Regions from separate parts of the Homo sapiens genome. Here region 1 is linked to region 2. Evidence: promoter capture Hi-C in human tissues and cell types (Jung and others, 2019). All regions are on one chromosome and are shown on one strand. The core of a region is centred on a gene start or on the middle of the fragment in contact, and the rest is flanking DNA. Distances in the headings are between cores, read along the strand shown.

The links. Contacts are between HindIII fragments. The study calls those that stand out against the background at their distance.
Region 1: a contact is called between a fragment that was not itself captured here and the fragment with the promoter of BPIFC in region 2, in 1 of the 25 tissues and cell types used here (H1 embryonic stem cells).

What each region holds. Positions count from the first base shown.
Region 1 is chr22:32,268,596-32,271,295 of GRCh38, reverse strand. SLC5A4-AS1 (SLC5A4 antisense RNA 1) reads right to left here. Exons shown (of 4, transcript NR_149072.1): 4 at 1-1,939. It also overlaps a transcript of SLC5A4 not described here and the pseudogene CPSF1P1. Among named protein-coding and RNA genes, the nearest start is that of SLC5A4, 15 kb to the right of the region's middle. The HindIII fragment of the contact is 4,471 bases long and covers 1-2,700 here.
Region 2 is chr22:32,463,172-32,465,871 of GRCh38, reverse strand. BPIFC (BPI fold containing family C) reads left to right here and starts at 1,426. Exons shown (of 17, transcript NM_174932.3): 1 at 1,426-1,498. The HindIII fragment of the contact is 9,351 bases long and covers 1-2,700 here.

The DNA of each region.
Region 1 (2,700 bases), core at 9-2,508, 190 kb after region 2:
GCCTCGCCCTGTGTGGTGGGCTCTCCAAAGGAGCTGTCCATGAGGACCCGCTGCCCCACAGGGAAGTTCTTCACCAAGAACACCAGCCGCCAGTCGGGGAGCTGGCAGGTCACCATGGTGCCATTCTCCTGCAACAGCAGGCACCAGTGGATGGGCTCTGTCTGGAAGGGTACAGAGTCCCAGTCGGCAGGGGCTGGCTGCTTCTTCGGGCCACCTCCTTGCTGGGACTGAAGAGGGATCCCAAATCCCCACACAGCATTTCCTCATCACCGACTGTGGGGCTAGTCTCCGAGCCCAGGCTCTCGGCCTCCAAGCCACTGTGGCCCCCTAGCTCATCGTGAGCCCCGCTCAGGCAGCTCTCAGTGGTGAACATGCCACTGAGGTCTCGGTACAGGCACAGCGTGATCACGTTGGGCTGATGGTGCAGCGGGGGCTTGTGCAGCACCAGGTGGTCGTGGCAGCCACTATAGGAGTGTGCTTTTCAGCAGGAACATGGTGACGCGGCCGTCGGCACTCATGATGACCACGCAGGGGTTGCCTACAGTGCACTGCATGTTGCGGGTGACCAGGCCCACAGGGATGAAGTACAACTGATTCATTCCTTCCAGCAGGTGGATGCCCAGCAGCGACACTTGGACAATGTAGTGGTTGTCCCCGATGTTTTCGGCAAAGACCGTGGGGCCCTGCGTGGCAAAGCCACTGGTGTCCAGCTCCATGATCTCCTGCCCCATCTGCGGGAATATGGTTGAGTCTTCCTGGCTCAGAATCAGGAATCACTGTCTGCGGTGGTCATTGTCCGCTTCGGGGGTGCTGGGTTCCTGCTCCGTGCCCTCCCCCTTGGGATTCTCTTTCTCCTCCTTAGGCACCAGGGCGATGACTGTCCACATGTCGTAGCAGCCGGGAAGCTCAAAGGTTGTCACCACCTGGGGCTGGATGCTCTTCTGCAGCACCGACAGAGCCCCATTCTTCCTGTGGCTGGAGCAAACCACAATCTCCAGGTCCGGCTCAGGGTTGTTCTGAAACTCTTCAGACAGGAAGGCAGGCTCACCCATGGCAGCATTGGTGCAGGGTCCAATGTTAAGGATGCTGTCACACACCTCAAAGGTAGGTGGCCAGCTGTGTGCCCGACTGGGCGTCGCTGCCGTACACTTCAATCTCGTCCATGTCGTCCTGTGACACGGATTTGTCCCTGGCTGACCAGCTGGCCATGTGTCCACTCGCTTCTTCTGTGAGGGAGGCTCTTCCTTGTCAGCAGCCTCACAGATAGCACTGGCCGGGGGCTCCTGAAGCTTCTCGGTGTACTTGAGGAGGAGAGAGTTGCCCAGGCAAGAACTCAGGAACAGGTACCCAGGCTCCATGGTGACCATGCTGGTGGTGAGGACGCTGGTGGCCGCCTTGTCAAAAGTGGAACACTCGGACGCTACGCATGCCATCGGTGATGAGGGTCAGCATGTAGATCTGACTGCCCTTGAGGGAGATGACCATCTTGTCATGGGAGATGAAGGTGGCCTGGGCGCAGTCCAGGGGGATTCACACACCCAGCTGGGTGCACAGCGGGAAAGCTGCGGTGCCTGTGGTGAGGCTGCTGAGAGCCACACCGTACGGGGGAATGCTCTGGTTCAGGTATAACAGCGAGCTGACGACAAAGACCACCACCCCACCTATGGGCTTGGGTACGGCCAGAGCCTGGGTGCAGTCAAAGGGTAGCTGGTGAGAGATCAGATGACGGGGTGCACCTTCTGCGTGATGTTAGCAAGATGGCCACGATGGAGCACGTGTCCTGCCACACAGCCACGTGCCCGGGCCAGGTCTGGTTGGGCTCGAACAGGATGGGCTTGTAGTAGCCGTGCAGGAACTGCAGGGCGATGATGATGAGCAGCTTCTCATCCAGGGCCTGCACATCGATGAGGTAGCTTCTACAGGACAGGCCAGCCCACTCCTATGGAATCAAAATACGGATTTTTAAAAGATCTCCAGGTGATTTAATATAAACAAGCTTGAGAAGTTATGTTTTAGGTCAGTGCTACACCCAAAGAAATATGACAGCCACATGTATAATTTTAAATTTTCCTGTAGACATGCTAAAAAAGTAATAAAAAACATGCAGCCGCTCGTGGTGGCTCACGCCTGTAATCCCAGCACTTTGGGAGGCCAGGGTGGGCAGATCACAAGGTGAGGAGTTCGAGACCGCCATGGCCAACATGGCAAAACCCTGTGTTTACTAAAAATATAAAAATTAGCCCGGTGTGGTGGCATGCTCCTGCAGTCCCAGCTACTCAGGAGGCTGAGGCAGAATCGCTTGAACCCAGAAGGCAGAGCGTGCAGTAAGCCGAGATCACACCACTGCACTCAGCCTGGGCGAAAGAGCGAAACTCTGTCTCAAGAGAAAAAATGCAAAAAATACTTTAAATAGTATATTATAAGCCTGTATATCCCAAATTATTATCATTTTCACAGAGGACACTAACCACATTTAAGGGCTCTGCAGCCAATGGCGACTACCACATTAGACAGCACAGGCCTAGAGCACGACCTAACTATTACATTACCTTCAAAATCTCTAGTCATCTCTAGTCTATATTCAACTATGGTTTGGGGGCATAAATATTTCAGGTGCCAGAATTCAGCCTATGCCCATATTTAATGGAGAACATTTTGAATGGCTACTTTCTCAGGGCCATTGATGGGCTGAGAGCAAAT
Region 2 (2,700 bases), core at 177-2,676:
TCCTGCATTCTTGGGAAACCAGGACAGTTGGTCACCGGGTCTTACCCAGAAAAGTGTAGATAAGCCATAAGAACTTCATGCAATCAGGCTGGGTGCGGTGGATCATGCCTGTAATCCCAGGACTTTGGGAGGCCAAGGCAGGTGGATCACTTGAGGTCAAGAGTTCAAGACCAGCCTGGCCAACATGGTGAAACCCCATCACTACTAAAAATACAAAAATTAGCCAAGTTTGGTGGTGCACACCTGTAATTCCAGCTACTCAGAGGGCTAAGGCACAAGAATCGCTTAAACCCTGGAGGCAGAGGTTGTAGTGAGCCAAGATCATGCCACTGCACTCCAGCCTGGGTGACAGTGAGACTGTCTCAAAAAAAAAAAAACCAAAAAACAAAAAAAAAAACTTCATACAATCAAATCCCTGGCCATCTAAAATACATTAATGGCCGGGTATGATGGCTCACATCTGTAATCCCAGCACTTATGAAGCCAACACGGGTGGATCAATCACATGAGGTCAGGAGTTCGAGACCAGCCTGGCCAATGCAGCGAAACCCTGTCTGTACTAAAAATACAAAAAATTAGCTGGGCGTGGTAGCGCACTCCTGTAATCCCAGCTACTAGGGAGGCTGAGGCAGGAGAATTGTTTGAACCCAGGGGGCGGAGGTTGCAGTGAGCCAAGATCGCTCCACTGCACTCCAGCCTGGGTGACAGAGTGAGACTCCATCTCAAAAAATAAATAAATAAAAATAAAAATAGATAAAACACATTAACTAAAATGAATTTATTGGAGATGAGAGTAGGGCTGGAGTTTGGAATCTGAAAATGTTAAGTTGCATAATAGTTGATGAACCCACCCACCCAACTTAGGTTTAAGGAATGCTGGAACAGTAAGTCATTAATAACATTCTGAAAAGGAGCGGACGGACACTGAGAGATGCCAACTGAGGTCCTACCCTGAGTGATAAGGTAACTAGGTCAGCCCGATTGTCAAGCCTCATGCTTTCAGACTGAATCTGATGATCCACCACAAGTCCCAAAGGTATTCTGGGCAGTAGTAGAGCCATCCACCGCAGGCACCCTGACCAGAAGGAACCAGCTTATGATTCCAGACAGGAAAATTCTTCCTCTTCCAATGCAGTTTAACACCGTTTTCAATCATTTTGGTAAAGTAGCCATCACAATTTCACAAGTGGTGTGTGTGTGTGTGTGTGTGTGTGTGTGTGTGTGTTTTGCAGGAAGATAATTATTGCATAGGTGGCACTGTCTGTTTATCTAGGTAGATACTGTAGTGCTCATTCATGCCATTGGGTAATTGTAGTGAAGCAATTATGTATCACATTTTGAAAGAGGCATTAAAAAAATTCACCACTGAGATGAGTCAGACTTAATTATCTTGGCTTTTTAGCAGCTGAGTTTAAGGCGCAAGGTGGAGAACACATCAGCTTCAAAGGCAGAGAGAATCGAAGGTGCTCTCCAGCTTTGGACACTTCCTCTGCTTGAGGTAAGACTCATGAACAAACTTCAGGTCTCTGCCAGCCATGATCTCCAAACTGGAGATGTCCCAGATTTGGTAGGACACTTTGAACAGGCAGCTGTCATATATCCTGGGTTATTATTATTGTCTGCCTAGATTTTTCTGTATCTTTGTTTGTTTGTTTGTGTGATGTCACATATGCGCACCTGGAGGCTTCTTAGGCAAAAGCTTTAGTGACAGCTAAACAGCCATAAGAGAGAAAAGAGTTGGTTTAAACCACCTACTTAGTTTTGCATCATGGAACAATGTTAAGAGGGTTGCTCAGTGATCTGGACTTATTTTTGCCTCCATTTCAGAGGGGAACCCAGCACAGTGGCAGAAAATTCTATCTTGTCTCTCAAAATCAGCATGGTTAGGACTAAGGAGTTGTTATAATCTCTGTGCTTTCAAGGCAGGTCTTAAAGCACATCAGTGACCTAGATCCTGCCAGAGCAAAACTAGCCACCCACTTGCCTGGACTGTTGAACTTGTTGGTGTTAGGCATAGAGTTTTGGGGAAAAGACATGCTATGAATTCTCAAGGTCCTTGTCATTAGAGATGTTGCTATAAAACTAGATGTGAGGAGTGGATCCCTTGAAATATTCTGCCCACGTTCCATACCTGTCGATTTAGACTTCTTATGTACGGTCATTTTGTCTTAACCAATATGTCGGAATACCCTTCTAGTTTAGACTTCTTTAAACCTGTTGAACTTAATTTTTCAACCTGCGCCTCTGTTTTGAAGGCTACATTTTACTCATTCATTACTCCCTTAATCGGTTTTTCCAGAGTCAGTCAAAGCTCTTGCCAAGCAGCAGTAGTAGTAGGACCATCTGTGAGTTTCAGGTGTTTTCTAAATTGGACTGGCATTTTCTTAGCTGTCAGGATGACTCACACAAGGACCATTTAATTTAGGAGTATTATTCTGTCTGTGTATTTGTATGGAAAAATAATGACTACTGAGATTTTGAATCTTGGAAAGAAGCAATTCCCCAGAAGCAACAAAATAGATAACTTGCTGGTGGGGTTTTTAAGTGATCTTGGATCCTTTTAACAGGCAACTAGCCCTGCCTGCACTTGTCAGCCAAATTACTTAACCTTTTAGTAGTCATCACCTTGCTTGACAAGGTTCCTTTCCTCCCCTGCCCATAAGTTATCATCGTAACTGAACAATTCAATGAAAAGTTATG